Linked DNA regions of Homo sapiens: regions 1, 2, 3, 5, 6 and 7 are each linked to region 4. Evidence: promoter capture Hi-C in 16 types of primary human blood cells and fetal thymus (Javierre and others, 2016). All regions are on one chromosome and are shown on one strand. The core of a region is centred on a gene start or on the middle of the fragment in contact, and the rest is flanking DNA. Distances in the headings are between cores, read along the strand shown.

Region 1 (2,728 bases), core at 21-2,520, 2.2 Mb after region 4:
GTTTGAGGAAGATTCAGAGTGGGGTATTTTCCAGTTTACTTTGCCATAGGTTATCAGTTTGATGGGTTTAAGCTAATAGGATGTTCATCCTTTTTGTCAAAACGTCTTTGCTTCATGCTTAGGTTTTGTAACTGCCAGAAATAGGCAGAAACTTCAGTTGTAATTTTGGTCTAAATTAAGGAAATAATAAGTGACAACTTTGGTGGGCATACCCTATTTTGGCCATGAGGCTGGAATTTGGGCTTATTAGTGATAGATTTGGCTTCAGTATTGCTATGTCAGGTATAAATGATCCTTTCCTATTTGGAGCTGTGGGGTTGGGGAAGTGACAGGGAAGGATAGGATTGGAGTTTTAGCAATTTTCTGGCAGTTTTAATTTGCTTGGACATAGGTCAGGTTTTACCATGGCAAAATTTGCCATCCTGGATGTTGTGAAGTCTGTCAGAATCTTTGAAGGCTGGGCTATTAAACTTCTTTCTGATCATCTTCTGTATGAGACTTTGGATATATGGTCTACAGATATAGACAGAACTGAACTGTTTGATCCTATTGCTTACCTGTTTGACTTTAGAGACCAAGCTAAGTTAACCCTCCTTGATTGCTTTTTCTTCTGCTAAATTTCTAGCATGCATTTATTATAGGTTGGACCAAAGGGCTTAAGGAGTCATTAATGAATTTTGGACCATTTAAGTGATGTTCCCATTCCAGGCCTGAAAACCATCAATGGTCTCAGACAATGCTTGTCTTAGGCAGCCTTGACTCGCTTGTAAAACAGCATTTTACATGAGAAGAAATACTTTCAGTAGCCTCTTACCCTTATAAAGACTTGTTTTAACTCTCAATTCATATAACCGGGTGGGAGAACATAATTATATGCCAACAATAAGAGGCAGTTTCCATCACATATATACCTTGTTGTATATAGATACTAGGGACTGTTAACAAGGTTGCTTTTTTTTTAATCCAACTCAGACACAAGAAGGAAAGCAGAACCTACCTTTGGAGGTCATGACCCTCGTACAGCTGTTCAGCTTCGAAGCCTCAGCACAGTATTAAAACGCCTCAAGGAAATCATGGAGGGGAAAAGCCAGGTACTGTCTAGAGGCTTTGGAAGATTACTTATTAAGCGCTTATGGGGATCATGCCATACCTAATGAAAATGGCTTAATGCCACTGAAAGAAAGCTTAATTAGCGCTTCCTCCAGCTGTGAGCACCCTATTTTTATACATAAGTTCTTAATTTTATTGTAGTCTAATTTATCAGTTTTTTTCCCGTTATCCTTAGTGCTTTTCGCGTTCTGTTTAAGAAGTGTTTATCTAGTTCAGGGCAGTAGATATTCTCCTATGGTTTCTTCAAGAAGCTTTATTATTTCTGTCAAGTATAGGGGTCAGGCTTCCATTTTTCCTCATGGATGTCCAGTTGGATATAGTACCATTGTTTTTGAAAAGACCATCTTTCACTGATTGCATTATAAATTCCACCGTAAGTCCATATATGTGTGAGGGTGTGTCAGGGCTCTCTTTTTCTGTTCCATACCTTTATTTTTTTCTATCCTTGTACCAGTACCCTGTCTAAAATTATTGTAGCATTAAGAATAAGTCTTGATGGCTGGTAATATTAAGTCCTTCAATTTGTTCTTCTTCAAGATTGTCTTGGTTATTTTGACCTTTCGTATTCCCATATGAATTTTTGAATTAGTTTGTTTTCTGCAAAAGAAACCTTTGAGGATTTCATTTGCCATTGCATATTAATAATCAGTATTTTCAAGAAGCCTTCACACATTTTTATTGTTATAGGATAGTGACCTGAAACAATACTGGATGCCAGATAGCCAATGTAAAGAGTGCTATGACTGTAGTGAGAAATTTACAACCTTTAGGCGCAGACACCATTGCCGACTATGTGGGCAGATTTTCTGCAGTCGTTGCTGTAATCAAGAAATCCCTGGAAAATTTATGGGCTATACAGGTAAATGCATTTTATTGCCAGTTTACAATTTTTAAAGGTCATAACTATAAGACACTTATAATACAGGATAGTGTTAAGCCAATTTTCATTTTGGGTTTTATGTGTAAGACATGGGGACACAAAGGTGAGGGAGACAGCTTTGCTTTTAAGAACTTTCCTATTGAATAATACAGTAGATGGGACTTATCATAAATAACTAGAGTAAAAGTGTATTTATTGTAGATGCTAGCAAAAAACTATAGGAACATTAAAATTTATTAGACAAGATCGTTAGAGTAGATTACTAATTTAAATCACTATGAGAGTTTTCATTTTAAAAGGACAGATCTTCCTTGACGTAATTACATGACACTGTGCTTTGGCAGTGAATTGTGTCTTACTCAGATTCCTCCATAAGGAACATAGTCAAATTTCAGCAGTACAGAAAATTTAAGTTATTTCTTGAAACAGAAAAAACTGAACAATGGTATGTTGATTTATACAGTGATTTGGGAGTAGAAGATAGTCAGAAATTACCTGAAAAACAAAACTCCTAACATCTCTCTCATGTTATTTTTGTTATTGTGAAGATCTTTCTGTCTGCTCATTTTTTTTTCCACCTAAACTACTACAGAGTTCAGAATCCCATTATCTGTCACCCAGAACCCCATTAGCTTTTACAACAGCTTTTTTGTTTGAAAATTACTTGTATTTCTTTTTTTTTTTGGTAATAATTTCAACTTTTATTTTAGATTCATGTTTGTTACAGGGGTATATTTA
Region 2 (2,794 bases), core at 70-2,569, 2.2 Mb after region 4:
AGCTATCTTGATATATATATATATATTTTTTTTATTACACTTTAAGTTCTAGGGTACATGTGCACAATGTGCAGGTTTGTTACATATGTATACATATGCCATGTTCATGTGTTGCACCCATTAACTTGTCATTTACATTAGGTATATCTCCTAATGCTATCCCTCCCCCCTCCCCCACCCCATGACAGGCCCCCGTGTATGATGTTCCCCTTCCTGTGTCCAGGTGTTCTCAATGTTGAATTCCCACCTATGAGTGAGAACATGCGGTGTTTGGTTTTTTGTCCTTGTGATAGTTTGCTGAGAATGTTGGTTTCCAGCTTCATCCATGTCCCTACAAAGGACATGAACTCATCCTTTTTTATGGCTGCAGAGTATTCCATGGTGTGTATGTGCCACATTTTCTTTTTTATTTTTATTTTATTTTTTATTTTATTATTATTAGTAGTAGTATACTTTAAGTTTTAGGGTACATGTGCACAATGTGCAGGTTAGTTACATATGTATACATGTGCCGTGCTGGTGTGCTGTACCCATTAACTCGTCATTTAGCATTAGGTATATCTCCTAATGCTATTCCTCCCCCCTCCCCCCACCCCACAACAGTCCCCAGAGTGTGATGTTCCCCTTCCTGTGTCCATGTGTTCTCATTGTTCAATTCCCATGTATGAGTGAGAACATGTGGTGTTTGGTTTTTTGTCCTTGCGATAGTTTACTGAGAATGATGATTTACAATTTCATCCACGTCCCTACAAAGGACATGAACTCATCCTTTTCTCTGGCTGCAGAGTATTCCATGGTGTGTATGTGCCACATTTTCTTAATCCAGTCTATCATTGTTGGACATTTGGGTTGGTTCCAAGTCTTTGCTATTGTGAATAGTGCCGCAATAAACATACTTGTGCATGTGTCTTTATAGCAGCATGATTTATAATCCTTTGGGTATATACCCAGTAATGGGATGGCTGGGTCAAATGGTATTTCTAGTTCTAGATCCCTGAGGAATCACCACACTGTCTTCCACAATGTTGAACTAGTTTACAGTCCCACCAACAGTGTAAAAGTGTTCCTATTTCTCCACATCCTCTCCAGCACATGTTGTTTCCTGACTTTTTAATGATTGCCATTCTATCTGGTGTGAGATGGTATCTCATTGTGGTTTTGATTTGCATTTCTCTGATGGCCAGTGATGATGAGCATTTTTTCATGTGTCTGTTGGGTGCATAAATGTCTTCTTTTGAGAAGTGTCTGTTCATGTGCTTCGCCCACTTTTTGATGGGGTTGTTTGTTTTTTTCTTGTAAATTTGTTTGAGTTTTTTGTAGATTCTGGATATTAGCCCTTTGTCAGATGAGTAGATTGCAAAAATTTTCTCCCATTCTGTAGGTTGCCTGTTCACTCTGATGATATTTTAATATGTCCAGATACTGCATTTTACCAGGTGTAATATTTCTGATTTATCTTACTTAGGAAAGGGAATTCTTGAAGAATTATGTCCAGCGAATAGTTGATGTTCGACCCACCTTGGTTCTTGTTGAGAAAACAGTGTCTCGGATTGCCCAGGACATGTTATTGGAACATGGCATTACTTTGGTCATTAATGTAAAGTCAGTGAGTGTTTTTAATTTTCTATTGTATTTTAAAAAAATCACAGCTTTTAAATTTATATGCACGTATGGTAGGTATACAAGAATCTTTTTTTCTTTGCTGTTCTATTTGTATTGAAAGTGGGACAGAAGATATGGCACCTATTTCATTAAGATTCAGAATTTCAGACTGGAACTGGAAGAAAGTATAATTGATTATGTAATACTTATTGGTGTCTACAAGACCAAAAGTGAAATGGACATTAGTTAATCACTAGGTATTTGTTGATCCTTCATTTTTGTTGGAGAATTGCTCAAGCAGAAGACGTTCTCTCCCTTGAAAAGTTTACCCTGTGCAGAACAGGGGCCAATTCTAGGAAGTTGTTTTTCTCCCCACATTATCTTGTGGTAATCCATGATGCTTAAGTGCATTTTTATAATGTTATTAATATGAGTAAGGTTTCAGTGGGCATATATTGATTACTAAGCAACTAAGTGTAGAAGAATCCAGAATAAAAAAATTCATCATATATTTATTAAAAAGGAAATTTGTGAATGTTATTTTTTAATTTTTCCATTACTTTTCCAGATTAAATTTACAAAGATTTTTATTCTTCTCTAGTTTTGTAATACAATGTTTTTCTGTTTTGTAGCAAGTTTTGGAACGAATCAGTCGAATGACCCAAGGTGATTTAGTGATGTCAATGGACCAGCTGCTTACGAAACCACACCTGGGCACTTGTCACAAATTTTATATGCAGATATTTCAGTTGCCTAATGGTGAGTGATCTTTAGCATAGATTGACCTGAGGAAAAGAGTTAACTTATCACTACTACAATGTTTACTTACTAGGAAATACCTATTAATAGTGGGTAAGTGAGGATAGGCAACTGTGATCTTATTCATGTAAGAGTTTTTCTTTTACAGATATTAAGAGAGTGAATTAATTCTATTTGTACTTCTGGATTGCCACCTCCACCATCTTAACTTTCTGTTTGTTTTTGTTTGTAGAACAAACCAAGACACTGATGTTTTTTGAAGGTTGTCCACAGCACCTAGGCTGTACAATCAAGCTAAGAGGAGGCTCTGATTATGAGCTGGCTCGAGTTAAGGAGATCCTAATATTTATGATCTGTGTTGCTTATCATTCTCAACTAGAAATATCCTTTCTCATGGATGAATTTGCTATGCCTCCCACATTAATGCAAAACC
Region 3 (2,789 bases), core at 149-2,648, 2.2 Mb after region 4:
CAGACATTTAATACTATATGTTTATATGAAATAATCAGTTGCTTATTGAATTTATCTGTGCATAAAATACTGTGTTCAATTCTAAGAGTGACTCAGAGAAATGGAAGGTATGGCTGTGTCCTCAAGCTTATAATTCAAAAGTAGAAATAAGAGCCAGGTGTGGTGGCATGCACGTGTAGTCCCAGCTACTTGGGAGGCTAGGGTGAGAGGACTCTTGAGGCCAGGGGTTTGAGGCTGTAGGGTGCTGTGATCATGGCTGTGAATAGCCACTGCACTCCAGCCTGGGCAACATAGCAAGACCTTGTCTCTAAGACAACAAACAAACCAGCAAACCCACAAAAGGTAGAAATAAGATCAGTGGGAAGATCCTTAATAGTGGAAGTAGTAATACTTTAATAATAAAAAAGTGTCAAATAAATAAATGACTATATGTCATGTAAGAATTCAAAAAAACAGAAAGCTCATTACTAATGAGGGAATCAGAAAAAGGCTTAAACTGAAGGACTTGAACTGGACCTTGAGAGATGGAATCATTTTGGATAGGCAGTGAGGAAGGTGAATCTTATTTAAAGGTGTGAAGAAAGATACAGAGGTAAGAATAAGCATGACATTTTCCATGGCCAGAAGTAGGATTTTTTAATTGGGAGAGAGTTTAAGTAGGAGTCTGGGGGCAATGAGAAAGGAAAGTTATTTGGGACTACCTGGTGGAAGGCAATGAATTCTGTACTTACAGGTGTAGATTTGAAACTTTAGTTGCTGAGGAACATTCAGAATTTTTTTGAGCAGGGAGTAATTTACTGAAGCTCTTCTTTTTAAAAAACTCATCTGTCAGTTGGGTACACAGTGAGAATCTGGTGGAGTGAAAGCCTCTAGGAACAGTTACCTTAGGTTAGTGTGATTAACTGTTGTCTCCCTCTGCCTTGCCCCATCTCCAAAGAAGAATACATAAATAGGAGATTGATAATATGTGCCATTGACTGAAAAAAGAAGTATTTGGAATAGTTGGTTTTCAAGAGAAAAAGTTATGTTTGGAATTAGATGAGCAGAGTTCAAGCTGTTCCCACGTATATGACATTTGTATTAAATTGTGTGAGTTAGCTACCATAAAGAAATCCAAGTTAGGTTTCCTTTTATGAGTCTAAAAATCACAGGAAAACATCTGAAAAGGTATATAGCATTTTTCTCAAGGGTAACTACTTGCTGTTAATGTGATTGCAGGACAGTGTGCAGTTAAAAGACCTGTGGAAAAAAATCTGCCATCACAGCAGTGGAATGGAGTTTCAGGATCACCGCTACTGGTTGAGAACGCATCCCAACTGCATTGTAGGAAAGGAATTAGTCAACTGGCTAATCCGAAATGGGCATATTGCCACAAGGTATTCTGATCTTAGAAGGTTTCAATATTATTTGTTTATTTTGAATGAGAAAACATATTTGAAGATAGTAAGAGTTACAGATTTCTTTGTAGAGTTAGGGTGCTCTTTGTTTTATGTAATTGATGGTTTAGGGTGCTAATTACTTAACCCTCCTCCAATCTGAGTTTTAACCAGCAGAGAACAGATGCAAGGAGTACAAGGAGCCAAATAGGATCTTAATTTACCTTATTAAAAGCAGAAGAACTCTCTAGCAAAGGAGGATTAGAGAAGGTAGCTGGAACCTAAGGCCAAAGAATTCCCCAGCTACTGTTCACTAATCTAGACAGGTTGTAACCTGTGTTGAGTATTTGATCCATAAGCTATGCCTGTCGGGTCCTAGCTTGCCTCACAAATCATTTATAAAAAAGAGTAACAGACAGGTCCTGCTTTTCAAATACATGTATCCCCTAGCTTTTACTATTTTCTCAGATTAGCTACTCCTCCTCTCATGGGAAGAAAAAGGTACGTAATGAAGTAAAGAGAGAAATAGCTTTAAGCAGTAAAGCCCTGGTTGCAATTTTGGCTGTATATATTTTTTAGCTTTGTGCTTTTAGTCACATTATTCAATCTCTGAGACTTCTTCACCATGAGGAAAATTGTGTGGTCCTGTGAATAAACTGTGGGGGATGAAATAATAGTGGCTGAAGTGCTTTATAAATTGTGAAATGCCATATAATGTATGGTGTCATTAAGTGTCTATTTCATATATATATATACACACACACACATTTTATGGCTGTATCTGTAATATTTGGTATTGTCTTATTAAAACTAAGCTCCTTGAAGGTAGGAGCTTTTCTCAACATTTTAAAATCTGTTAAGTATAGGGTTGTGCGTGCATTGAATACTCAGTCAATGCTTGCTGTTATTAAAATTAGGTTTTGTTGGGACTGCCTTACCAGTAGTTTCTTCTCCTTTACTATAGTACCTGGAAGAATCTTTTAGTTTGCTTTAACTCTCTCGTTTCGTCCTTTACTTATCCAAGGGCCATTTGAAATTCTAACTCTGATTAGAACTGAAAAAAAATATTTTAAGGTTGTGTCTTATCTGGTACTTAACTATTCTGACTGACTTTTAAAACTTTTCATTTTTGTGGGTCTTGATTCAGGGCACAAGCTATAGCAATTGGACAAGCAATGGTTGATGGACGTTGGCTGGATTGTGTTAGTCATCACGACCAGCTTTTCAGAGATGAGTATGCGCTGTATAGACCACTGCAGGTACTTTTCAGTGTTTACTGCCAATTAGAATGTAGCAAGCTTATTTTATAGTCTTTCTTCATCAGTGGGAATAAAAAGTAGTTTATTAGAAGATGATTTTTCTAACATTTTTTCCTGCTGTTTGAGGAAAGTTAAAACTTTTTTTACTTGGTAG
Region 4 (2,839 bases), core at 295-2,794:
AACCCTGCCTGATCCTGCCCCTCTCACTGACAGTCTCCTCGCTGCTCCCTACATCTTCCTCTCCGCCGGAGCTGTCCAGAAGGGGGATTTTGGACCCAAAGGAATCGGGATGAAAGGGGGTGGGTACTCAAGCTGAAAATAACACCCCCAGTTGGTGGGGTAAGGGCTAAAAAAGGCAATAGGGAAAGATTGTCCGGCAGAAACACCACCTGAGTTTACCTCCTCCTTCCCACCCCAAAAACCCAGTCACTAACTAATAAAGCTAAGAAAAGCCCCTTGCAAACTTTTCCAAACCGGAAGAGAAGGCCCTCTCCCCAACCTGGGGGGCTCTAGGGGGAAGGGGCTGGAGTTAGCAGCCCCGAATGGGCTCGCGGGGAGTTGGGTGGGGCGCGGGCGAGGGGTGCAGGGGCGGAGTACCTTCTTCAATGGACAGGAACTGGCAAAGAGTTTCAAAATAGCCGAGTGCGCTCCCCCACGCCCTGGGGGGTCCCGGGCGCTAGGACCAGGGCTCCCCGGAGAGACAGCGGCCCCCAGTTCGGGCCTAAAAGGAAACTTTCTGGGCCGCGGCTGCACCTGACTCCTCACCGCCCCTCCACCCGACCCCACGCCCGCCAGGCCGCCCGCCCCGCCCCGCCCCGGCCTGGCCGTCCGGAGCGCGGAGGAGGGGGATAAATAAATTCAACTCTTACCGGAATCTGGGGGCCGTCTGCGAGAGACCCGGGGGAAGGGGAGCCGGGCGCCCATTCCCCACTCCCCACTCCTAGGCCCTGACGCCCCTGTCCCGGCAGCCCGGGCCTGCCGCCCCGCGGGAAAGCCTCCGGGCCGGCGCGGGATTCGGCCCAGCAGCGCCGCCGTCCCACCCGGAGACCCCGGGGGACTCGAGGGGGCGCGCGGAGGCCCGGGGTGCGGGGGCAGGGCGCGGCTGCCGTGGGGCCTACCGGCCCGAGGCCTACCGGCGCCCCCCCCTCCCGCCGCACACCCCCACCTGGCCCGCGCAGGCCGCTCCGCTCGCCCCACTCCGGCTCCGGCTGGACCCCTGCCCGCCCGCCGTCGCCGCCCGCGGGCGCCCCGGAGGCCCTCAGGCCCCCGGCCTCCACCACCCGGGCGCCGGCCCCACTCACCCTTTCATTCTCCGCCCGGGGCCTGGCGTGGGCCGGCGAATCCCCGGCCTCACGTAAGCGCGCTCGCCGCCCGCCCAGCCTGCGCGGCCCAGCCCGCCGCCCTACGGGAGCCCGGGGATGTGGGCCGGGCCTGGGGCCGCCTCTGCTTACCTTTCAGCTGCTTTTTTTTTTCTCCTTCCCCCCTGTTCCCTCGGCTGGGCTGACAGATCAGAGTGAGAGGCGCTGGCAATGGACTAGGAAGCTCGGCTGCCGCTGCTACTGCTCCCCCCTGGGCTCCGGCGAGAGCCTTTCCCTGTCAAGCAAGAGGGGTGAGGATCATATTTTTATTTTGGAAACTAAAAAGTGCTCCCAGGGTCGGTGATTATTAAGGGGAAATCCCTGAATATACTCTCCAGCCAAGAAGGCAGGGCTGCCGGGGCTGTACAAGAAGAGGCAGCAGCCTCCTACAGCACCACTACAGGCACTGCGAGGACATAACACCAGAGAGCTGCTCCTCTGCCCTCCGAAACGACAACTTTCCTACCATCTTGGAGGCAGAGCAAAGGGGGGCCAGGGGGAAAAGTGCACCCGCTCCCGATAAAGTACAAATTTTTACTTCTCATCTCTGGAAAAAAGTCCACACCGGCCGTCTACACCCGCGCCTGGGGGAGAAAGCAGGGAAGAAACGGGGGGTGCATGAGAAACGTTTTCATTTGCTCCAGGGGGAAAAATGTTTCTGCATCTTCTGATGGAAAGAAATCTTTACAAGACACAGGTTTTCCGGTGGTTATTGTTTTTTATTTTCTGTTTTTAATTTTTTTCATGTTAGTGACAGTGATATTTTAATATTTTTTTAAGCCAGTAATAATTTTTCTCCATTACAGGGCTAAGTTCTGTGGCTGGTGGTCAGTTTGTAAATTTATACTTAAAGAGACTTAATAGTAACTTCATTTATTTGTCTGGTTATGTTATTGTATATATAAATATTTATGTTTTCATATATTGCATATAAAAATTTGTGTTACATGTTACTCTCAGAACAGATTGCTGTAAGACAATTGTAAAAAAACATGTCTTTCGTCTGTTTCTCAAAGCAATGTAAATAAAACCTATGGACTGTCCAGAAAGGCATGATACAGTGTGTCATTTTCCACAGTGCAGATAAAGGCAGCTATCACTGGGGATTTAAAAACGGCCCCTGTTTCTGGAAATTCTGTTATGCTGCCCATACAGAAAGGATACAGTAAAACTGGAAAGAGATTTTAAAGACAGCCTTAGATTTTTCTTGAGGTAAAATAGCTTATTAAGAATTATATCCGGGCATTTAATTTTTTTATTTATTTAGATTCTTTAAACTCTAGCTAGATCTTTGGTGCATTACACATGTTGCTATCTGCTTTTTGTGTCACAGAATTGAGAAATGTGGCTATTTTTGTTAGTTATGTTAGTTCAGAACTTCCAATGTGCTGCCAGCCTGTATGATAGACTTTTTGTATATTGCAGTGGATGTCATGAATTTACTTTTTTAAATGAGCAAAGCTTACTAGATAAATGGGATCAGAGTTAAACAATGCTGTTAGCACAGAGGTGAGAGGGACAAAGGGTACCCATTTACATCGATTCCAATAGAACGCTTATTGGAGGATAAATTGCAGAGACATTTTTCTATTTTTGTGAAGAAAGAGAAAAATAATAGAAAAAGAACCGACTATCTTTGTATGTTCTACTGGGGATGATGA
Region 5 (2,816 bases), core at 174-2,673, 2.2 Mb before region 4:
TTGAGCTGGGGCTTGAAGGTTTCTATAATGTGTAGCAGTGTATAGAAAACAGGCAGGTCAGAAAAGGCTTCTGTGCATCACACCAACATGGCACATGTATACATATGTAACAAATCTGCATGTTGTGCACATGTACCCTAAAACTTAAAGTATAATAATAATAAAATTTTAAAAAAAAAAAGAAGAGGCTTCCTGGAGGAGATGACAGCTGAGCTAAGTCCTGGAGGATGAGAAGGAGTATAAAATAAGATAATAGGAGAAAAAAGGCAGTAGGAACAGCATGGGTAAAGGTGATGAGGCCTGAAAGAGGCACGTGGAAGGAAAGACAAATGCAGGAAGGGGGAATGGGAGGGAATGCTGGGGTACAGGCCAAAGAGGGAGGCATTTGGTGAGTATTCTGCAGAGTCTCCTCTGCTGTGCTGAGGTGTGGACAATGGGAAACCATGGACGGACTGGAGTAGGCAAATGTCATATTCCCTGTTACAACTGTCTGTTTGCATGTCAGCCTTCTAGAAGCCCCTTAAGGTATCAACTATGTTTTTGTTTTGTCATCATTCAATCCTAAGTGCACAGAATTCCGGGCATATTACAGGTTCCCCATGAATGTTTCTTTCTTTATTAAAATGTATGAAAACTCTCCAGATTTAAGGAAGGTCCTCAATGTTTCAAATTCTTTTTGTTAGATCATTGGTCCTGTCTACAGCTGTCACAAATTTAAGGACTCTGGTTATATTTAATCTTCACTTTTGAATTTTCTGCTTGAAAAATTTGTATTAGAAAAAAAAGTCTATCCTTTTATGGACGGCTCTAATCTCTTGAATCATTTGGGTTGGCTTTTCTTTGGACCTTCTTCAACTCTGTTTTGTCTCTGTTGAGTTAAGGCTTTTAAGAACACCTGAATTCTTTCCTTCTGCAAAACCAGAGGCAGCTTCTTTTCCGCCTATTTTCAGTTTATTTCTTGTGATTTTAGTTTTTTTCTCTTAACCAAATGCTAAATGGATTTAGGAGAAATAAACTTATTTGTAAAGCTGTCAAGGGACCATTAGAAGGATGGTGCTTCACAGATAGAATACAGTTTTTATTAATGATGCCTAGACAAATCCTGCCATTAGCCCAAGGGCTCAGAAAGTTAGCAGCCTAGTAGTTTTGGAGTTGTCAATGAAATGAATTGGACTGGATGGTTAAGGATGCCCAGAAGATTGAATAAAATTGGGATTTAGGAGGACCCTTGTACTCCAGGAAATTCTCCAAGTCTCCACTTAGTTATCCAGATCCTCAAAGTGAACATGAAGCTTCAGTTTCAAATTGAATACATTTTCCATCCATGGATTGGCTTGTTTTGTTCAGTTGAGTGCTTGAGGTTGTCTTTTCGACGTAACAGCTAAACCCACGGCTTCCTTTCTCGTAAAACCAAAACAAAAAGGCTTTCTATTCAAGTGCCTTCTGTGTGTGCACATGTGTAATACATATCTGGGATCAAAGCTATCTATATAAAGTCCTTGATTCTGTGTGGGTTCAAACACATTTCAAAGCTTCAGGATCCTGAAAGGTTTTGCTCTACTTCCTGAAGACCTGAACACCGCTCCCATAAAGCCATGGCTTGCCTTGGATTTCAGCGGCACAAGGCTCAGCTGAACCTGGCTACCAGGACCTGGCCCTGCACTCTCCTGTTTTTTCTTCTCTTCATCCCTGTCTTCTGCAAAGGTGAGTGAGACTTTTGGAGCATGAAGATGGAGGAGGTGTTTCTCCTACCTGGGTTTCATTTGTTTCAGCAGTCAAAGGCAGTGATTTATAGCAAAGCCAGAAGTTAAAGGTAAAACTCCAATCTGGCTTGGCTGGCTCTGTATTCCAGGGCCAGCAGGGAGCAGTTGGGCGGCAGCAAATAAGGCAAAGAGATAGCTCAGAACAGAGCGCCAGGTATTTAGTAGGGGCTTCATGAATGCATGTGAGTTGGTTTAGTAGAGAGACACAGGCAATTTCAGACCCTTCTATGAGACTGGAAGTGATTTAAGAGGGAAAGGATAGCCATAGTCCTGAATACATTTGAGCTGGGTTTCAGGATGAGCTCACAAGTTCCTTTAAAAAAAATTGACTTAAGCAAATCCTGGGAAGAGTTTTTTTGCTATACAATTCAAGGTTTTAAGGTCCTCGGATTCATATACTTTATAAATGAATTAGCCAGCTTGTTTAAAATGTAGGGAAATTGTGGGAAGAATGCCTTCTTTACTTAATTCAAGGTTTTAAGGTTCTCTTAATCAATTCTACTAGCTAATTAGCCAATTATTTAAAAATAAAAGTTTGAAATTGCCAAAAAAAAAAGACAAGGAAAAGGAAAGAAAGAAAGCCACCAGTCTGTTTGGCATACAATACTTAATTGTTGCCTGACCTACGTGTGGGTTTCAGATGCAGATCCTCAGTTTTCAGCTCTTCAGAGACTGACACCAGGTTTGTTACACGGCTTAAAATGATGAGTATATCCATTGAATCTCAACCTTATCTCTCTCTAGACCTTCTTGGTTAAGAAACCATGTAGTTTGTATGAAGTAGGTACTCAAAAGATATTTGATGATTTAATTTTTACTGGAGAAGAAATATTCATATATGTTTTCTTATTTTTACATGTTTTAAATATGTAAAGATTAAATAAACACTCTTAGAAGTATTTAAATTTCCTAAAGTAAATTTATCTCAACCAGTAACAGGACCCTCCCAATACTGGAAAGTTGAGTGTGACCGCATTTAGTGGTGATGAGTGTGAGCTTGCTTGGGGAGAGGGCAGGACATTTAGGATTTCTTAAGCTTAGAGTCAATACAAT
Region 6 (2,748 bases), core at 166-2,665, 2.8 Mb before region 4:
TTAAAGCTATAAAATCTATAAATACTTTTAGCACACTTTCACTAAAAGCAGCACTAGTAAGTAGCAGGCCTTGTCTTGTATTTCAGTAGCCACGTCAAAACTTCTGAGCCAGGCGAAATAGAAAGAGGGGTCCTAGGGTATTTTATGCCCAGGGCAACAAACGCCAAATGCTGACGTAGATAGCACTTATTCGGTTTTGCCAGGAGCTGTGCTAAGTGATTTTCATAAAATATGTAATTTAACCTACAGGCAACTCCATGTGGTATTATTTTCACTTTTTTACATAGAAGGAAATGGAAGCTTAGAAAACTGAAGCAATTTACCGAAAGTCAGAGTTAACAGAGCAAGGAAACCTGAACAGTGTGCAGCCTCCGCTCACCAGAAAGTGTCAAAGAATCACATTTACTAGTACTTCAGACAGAAATTCTGCGAAACAAGGCGTATCTACTCTTGTTTTACTCCCAGACACTTCCCTGTCCCGCTTAGATCAGTGGTGGTTTTCACTCAAATTTAAGTGTGTAACAGTGTCCCCGGGAGGGCTCTGTTCAAACAGATTGTTGTACGCGCCCCCTACCCCTGCCCACCCCGAGTGTTTGATTCAGTAGGTCTAGTTTGGGATCGAGAATCTTTTTATTTTGTTTTCCTTTTGTTTTGTTTTGTTTTGTTTTTGAGACAGGGTCTCGCCCTGTCGCCCAGGCTGGAGTGCAGTCGTGCCATCTCGGCTCACTGTAGCCTCTGCCTCCCCGGCTAAAGTGATCCTCCAGCCTCAGCCTCCGGAGCAGCTGGGGCCACAGGCAAGCGCCACCACTGTAGGCTAATTTTTTTTTTTTTTTTTTTTTTTTTTTTGTAGAGACTGGGGTCTCACTATGTTGCCCACGCTGGTCTCAAACTCCTGGGCTCAAGCGATCCTCCCGCTTCAGCCTCCCAAGGTGCTGGGATTACAGGTGGAGCCACCGCGCCCGGCATCGATAATCTGAATCTCTAACGAGCTCCCGGGCGACGTTGATGCAGCTGGTACCGGGACCACTCTTCGAAAATCATCGGTTTAGAGGTTTTAATTCTGAATCCATTGCGAAAACTGTTGGGCGGACAGAGCACTACTAACTCCTAACTTTTCTCAGAAAGCTGGGCTCTGCTTTCGCCAGCAACCCGGTCCGAAGTCGCGGGCATATTCTGTCTGAAATCGTGTGCACCGAAATCCCCGCCTTGCGGTGGAGGCTGGCGCTAGGCGGCCTCAGCCTCGGCCTGCTGCGCTCAGGAACCCGCGCCCCGGCTCCTCGGCGATCCATTGCTCTTTCCTCTGGCGCCGGCCGCAGGCCTCGGTCACGCCCCCAGCGGCCCGTTGGTTTCCGGGTCCCGCGGGGTGCCCCCGCCCACACGCTATGCCTTAAATTGGGCCAGGCTGAGGCGCTGCTGCTGGAGCGGCCGATCCGAGACGTGGCTCCCTGGGCGGCAGAACCATGTTGGACTTCGCGATCTTCGCCGTTACCTTCTTGCTGGCGTTGGTGGGAGCCGTGCTCTACCTCTATCCGGTGAGCGCCGTCTTGGCTCTCTGGGGCCCCGGGCGCCGCCCCAGTCTCTCTGTCGCCGGCATCCAGGCCAACCTGCCCGCTGCGGGCCGCAGGGGGCGGGCCTGAGAGGAGGGTTCGGGTTCGCTCCAGAGCTTCAGCGCGGGGACCGCACCCGGAGTCACGTGACGCCCCTCCCGGCAAGCTCTGAGAGCGACGTGGGCTGCGTCGCTACCCCTCAGGCGCCGGGCCAGGCGGGCGTAGAGCTGCTGAGGAAAAGCCCGCGCCCCCGCAGGCCGGTCTCACCTTGCCAGGCACCCCGCGCCACTCTCCAAGGCGGCTCTCAAGTACTTTGGGCAGCTTTTTGGCCATAACTCGCCAAACCCAAATTTCATTTCCCAGTGTGTCAGGACGAGACTCCTGGGCGCGCCACTCCTTTCTCCTTTCTTGAGGATTCTCCCAGCACTTGTGTATTCCTCTTTTCCATCTGTCCATCGATCTATCCTGACTGGAATCCAAAGTGCTCGAGGTCCAGGTCTTGCTCCTCTTAGGGGCTCCAGGCAAATGCTTCTTTGGGGAGAGCGCCGCGCTGCGGGTTCGGGTGCGAGGTTTCCTCTGCCGCTGACGCCTCTGCGAGCCTCCGGTCCTCCTCTCTCCACTTGCCTCCGTCAGCGAGAGAGGGAGGGTCTGAAAACAAAAGTGTTGATGACTGAGGACCGTCTTTAAAACCTGTTCTACACACTTTGGGAGGCTGAGGCGGGCGGATCACGAGGTCAGGATATCGAGACCATCCTGGCCAACATGGTGACACACCGTCTCTACTAAAAATACAAACATTAGCTGGCTGTGGTGGCGGGCGCCTGTAATCCCAGCTACTCAGGAGGCTGAGGCAGGAGAATCGCTTGAACCTGGGAGGCGGAGCTTGCAGTGAGCCAAGATCGCACCACTGCACTGCAGCCTGGCGACAGAGCCAGACTCTTATCTCAAAACAAACAAACAAACAAACAAAAAACACCTGTTCTACAAAGCAAGGTGGTGGTTTTACAGTGAAAGTTGAAAAGTAGCTGAACTGCTGGAATTGACCATACACCTTCTTAAATGTTCTTTTCCGAGCAGGTAAATGGATTAGACTAGAATCTTGCAACTACACAATCAGGGACTTCCTGAAATCTTATTTTCTGAGAAACTAAACAATTTTAGTGGTTCTTGAATTTTTGGTGATTTTAAAATGATACTCTTC
Region 7 (2,847 bases), core at 42-2,541, 2.2 Mb before region 4:
GCCTGTAATCCCAGCACTTTGGGAGGCCGAGGCGGGCGGATCACGAGGTCAGGAAATCGAGACCATCCTGTCTACGGTGAAACTCCGTCTCTACTAAAAATACAAAAAATTAGTCGGGCGTGTTGGCGGGCGCCCGTAGTCCCAGCTACTAGGGAGGCTGAGGCAGGAGAATGGCTTGAACCCGGGAGACGGAGCTTGCAGTGAGCCGAGATTGCGCCACTGCACTCCAGCCTGGGCGACAGAGCGAGACTCCGTCTCAAAAAAAAAAAGTGTAGTGGTTATAAGCATGGGCTCTGGAATTCTCCTGTGTTTAAATTCTAGATCTTCCATTTAGCAAGCTGTGTGAGGGCCTTACGCCACTTAAACCCTCTTTACCATCTCAGGTTCCCCAGTTGCAAAGCAGGGATGATAGGAACATCTACTTTATCGGGTTGTGTGAGGATTAAATGATTCAGCACATGCAAAGTGTTTAGAAAAGAGTCTGACATAGAGTAAGCTCTCGATAAACATTTGGTTCATTAGTATTAAAAGGTTTTGAAATAAAAAGGGTCTGGAAAATATCGATGATTAAATCCATATATTTTGTTATGAACATGTTCTTTTAAGTCACATGCTTATTATTTTACCTGTAGTATGGTGTCAGCCAGCGCTGTCCAACTGAATTATAATGTGAGGCACACATGTAATTAAAATTTTTGTAGTAGCCACATTAAATAAAAGTAAAAATCACTAGTAACAAGACATATTGACATCATGAGCCCTTTGATAGAATGATCTGAGAAGGACACTTCCGTCTGTGATTTCTCTTGCCAAAAATGCACACACTCATTCCAATCATGAGAAAACACTACACAAACCTAAATTGAGGGACATGGTACAAGATAACAGATCAGTGCTCTTCAAAAGTGTCAAGGTCATGAATGCAAGCAAAGACCGAGGAACCATCATAGATTGGAAGAAACTAAGGGGACATGACAACTACATACAACGTGGTATCTTGGGTTGGATCCTGGGGAAAAAAGGACACCAGTGGAAAAATTGGTGAAATTTGAGTACACTTTGTAGTTTATACTAATGTATCAATGTTAATTTATTGGTTTTGATCATTGTACTATGGTTATGTAAGATATTAACTTAAGGGAAAGCTAGGTGAAGACTGTGGGAACTTACACAATTTTTCCTTTAAGTTGAAAATTAGTTCAAAATAAAATAATTGAAAAGTTAAAAAGAAATAAGTGAATTTAAATATTTTATTTAATGCAATATATCTAAAAATTGCTTTAATATGTAATCAGCATAAAGTTATTAATAAGAGATTTAAAAATTTTGTACTGTCTTCAAAAATCTGGTGCATATTTTACATTGTGCATCTCAGTTTAAACTAGCCACTTCCAAGTGCTCAGAAGCCATGTGTGTGCCAGGGGCAGATGCAGTGGTGAGGACCTCATCCAGGGACCCAGTGACTCCTTGACAGCATTTTTCCGGGTTGGCTCCTTTCCTGACTCTGGTTCTCGTCCTGCCCCCATAAAGCCTTAGTACTCCCAGAGGAGATTAGCCTCTTGGAGGGGTGCTCAGATTAAATTCTGGTAACACTGGTGGCTGGTCTAAGAAAATAATGTCTTAATTTATTAAGAGCATGGTGTTTTCTATGAAATAAAATGCTCATAGACCCAGCAGTTTCTAAAATGTGAGATGGGTAACACCTGTTTTTGGAGGTCTAAGGAAAAATGACTTCAGGTGTTACTTGGATATGGCATTAAATAACATTCACTTACCAAGTGAAAATATTTTTTCTCATTTCGATTCTCTTTTTTTCCTTTAGATTATATTAAAGACCTAGACTCATTTAATGTCTCCCTAACACACTAGGATATATATCTATATGTAGATCTATATCTGTCTCTTCTCTGTTATTAGGATCTGGATAGAATTTAAGGTATTGTTTCTGTTTTATTTATTTTTGTCATTACCTTTTATTCATGGCAAATAATATTGGCTTTCCATTCAATTACTGATATGAAAGTTTTACAATTTATTTAAAATAAAACATAAGGGCACATTTATTAAAAATACAATTATTAAGATAATCATAGTCCAAGCGGCACTGGAAAATAGCAAAAACAAATAATTAACACCAAAAACAAAGAAACAAAAATCATTCAGGGACTATGACAGTGTTTACAACTTGGGGAGATCAATTCTCAGTTTCAGAAATGTCCTCTCATAGAAGCCCCTAGGAAAACAAGCCTGGGTGTTTTCAATAAACCAATTCCCCCTCATTAAATCTTTCCCTAGTAAGATTGCATTTCTTCTCACAGTCCTCTTCTTCTGCTGCTGCTTTCTCTCTCTTCTCCTTTTACTTTATTTTTGTCCCTCTTGTCCTTTCTCTGCTCCCTTTCACTATTTCCGTTTTAACCTCCCTCCCTCTGGCCAAAGTTCGGCTCTCCTCACCCACCAATCACACTGCCGGCCTCTAACTTTGGGCGTAGTACGTCTGACCAATCAGAGTGCAGCATCTGCCACCTTGTGCTTGCGACTGACGTTTTCACAGGACCTGTGTACACACAGGACATTTCCCTGGATATTTTGGAATCCCTTCACGGTTTCTTTGACAATGTTGGTGTCAATTTCTGGGCAATTGGAGGGTACTATTCTCTGTTGAAGGAAACTTTCCCATGTCATTCTACCCTTGACTCCCTTGGACCAGACAGGTGGAGTTTCCAGGTGCATACGGTTCTCGCTATTTTATGCACTGATGAGGCAGTAAATGAAACTTCCAAAATCTGGTTTGCGTAATTTATGCCTTTGAAAGGCTGATATTATTGCATTAAATTCTGAGGGCATTTA

What was found. The method cuts DNA at HindIII sites, captures the fragments that hold promoters and counts their contacts. A CHiCAGO score of 5 or more calls a contact.
Region 1: a contact is called between a fragment that was not itself captured here and the fragment with the promoter of INO80D in region 4, in 3 of 17 cell types (non-activated CD4 T cells, total B cells and total CD8 T cells). The highest score is 6.6, in non-activated CD4 T cells.
Region 2: a contact is called between a fragment that was not itself captured here and the fragment with the promoter of INO80D in region 4, in 1 of 17 cell types (total B cells). The highest score is 7.0, in total B cells.
Region 3: a contact is called between a fragment that was not itself captured here and the fragment with the promoter of INO80D in region 4, in 1 of 17 cell types (monocytes). The highest score is 5.3, in monocytes.
Region 5: a contact is called between the fragment with the promoter of CTLA4 here and the fragment with the promoter of INO80D in region 4, in 6 of 17 cell types (naive CD8 T cells, total CD4 T cells, activated CD4 T cells and 3 more). The highest score is 12.1, in naive CD8 T cells.
Region 6: the fragment with the promoter of CYP20A1 here is called in contact with the fragment with the promoter of INO80D in region 4 in 9 of 17 cell types (total CD8 T cells, total B cells, non-activated CD4 T cells and 6 more); the score reaches 11.7 in total CD8 T cells.
Region 7: a contact is called between a fragment that was not itself captured here and the fragment with the promoter of INO80D in region 4, in 1 of 17 cell types (M2 macrophages). The highest score is 6.1, in M2 macrophages.

The regions. Positions count from the first base shown.
Region 1 is chr2:208,275,740-208,278,467 of GRCh38, forward strand. It overlaps PIKFYVE (phosphoinositide kinase, FYVE-type zinc finger containing), which reads left to right. Exons shown (of 42, transcript NM_015040.4): 4 at 973-1,091; 5 at 1,798-1,969. Among named protein-coding and RNA genes, the nearest start is that of PIKFYVE, 11 kb to the left of the region's middle. The HindIII fragment of the contact is 177 bases long and covers 1,183-1,359 here.
Region 2 is chr2:208,322,677-208,325,470 of GRCh38, forward strand. It overlaps PIKFYVE (phosphoinositide kinase, FYVE-type zinc finger containing), which reads left to right. Exons shown (of 42, transcript NM_015040.4): 18 at 1,466-1,606; 19 at 2,235-2,361; 20 at 2,594-2,794. Among named protein-coding and RNA genes, the nearest start is that of PIKFYVE, 58 kb to the left of the region's middle. The HindIII fragment of the contact is 5,563 bases long and covers 1-2,794 here.
Region 3 is chr2:208,299,719-208,302,507 of GRCh38, forward strand. It overlaps PIKFYVE (phosphoinositide kinase, FYVE-type zinc finger containing), which reads left to right. Exons shown (of 42, transcript NM_015040.4): 9 at 1,219-1,376; 10 at 2,524-2,635. Among named protein-coding and RNA genes, the nearest start is that of PIKFYVE, 35 kb to the left of the region's middle. The HindIII fragment of the contact is 2,548 bases long and covers 125-2,672 here.
Region 4 is chr2:206,084,630-206,087,468 of GRCh38, forward strand. INO80D (INO80 complex subunit D) reads right to left here and starts at 1,545. Exons shown (of 11, transcript NM_017759.5): 1 at 1,272-1,545. INO80D-AS1 (INO80D antisense RNA 1) reads left to right here and starts at 26. Exons shown (of 2, transcript NR_186084.1): 1 at 26-119; 2 at 1,328-2,839. RefSeq lists silencers at 276-570, 472-521, 562-761, 782-951, 1,032-1,241 and enhancers at 1,292-1,581, 1,308-2,127, 1,632-1,681, 1,692-1,801. The HindIII fragment of the contact is 4,007 bases long and covers 1-2,637 here.
Region 5 is chr2:203,866,348-203,869,163 of GRCh38, forward strand. CTLA4 (cytotoxic T-lymphocyte associated protein 4) reads left to right here and starts at 1,424. Exons shown (of 4, transcript NM_005214.5): 1 at 1,424-1,704. The coding sequence starts at 1,596. The HindIII fragment of the contact is 240 bases long and covers 1,291-1,530 here.
Region 6 is chr2:203,237,603-203,240,350 of GRCh38, forward strand. It overlaps CYP20A1 (cytochrome P450 family 20 subfamily A member 1), which reads left to right and starts at 1,416. Exons shown (of 13, transcript NM_177538.3): 1 at 1,416-1,532. The coding sequence starts at 1,461. RefSeq lists enhancers at 1,117-1,166, 1,452-2,023, 1,847-2,136 and a silencer at 1,237-1,446. The HindIII fragment of the contact is 4,599 bases long and covers 299-2,748 here.
Region 7 is chr2:203,911,655-203,914,501 of GRCh38, forward strand. No RefSeq gene overlaps it. Among named protein-coding and RNA genes, the nearest start is that of ICOS, 24 kb to the right of the region's middle. The HindIII fragment of the contact is 3,373 bases long and covers 1-2,847 here.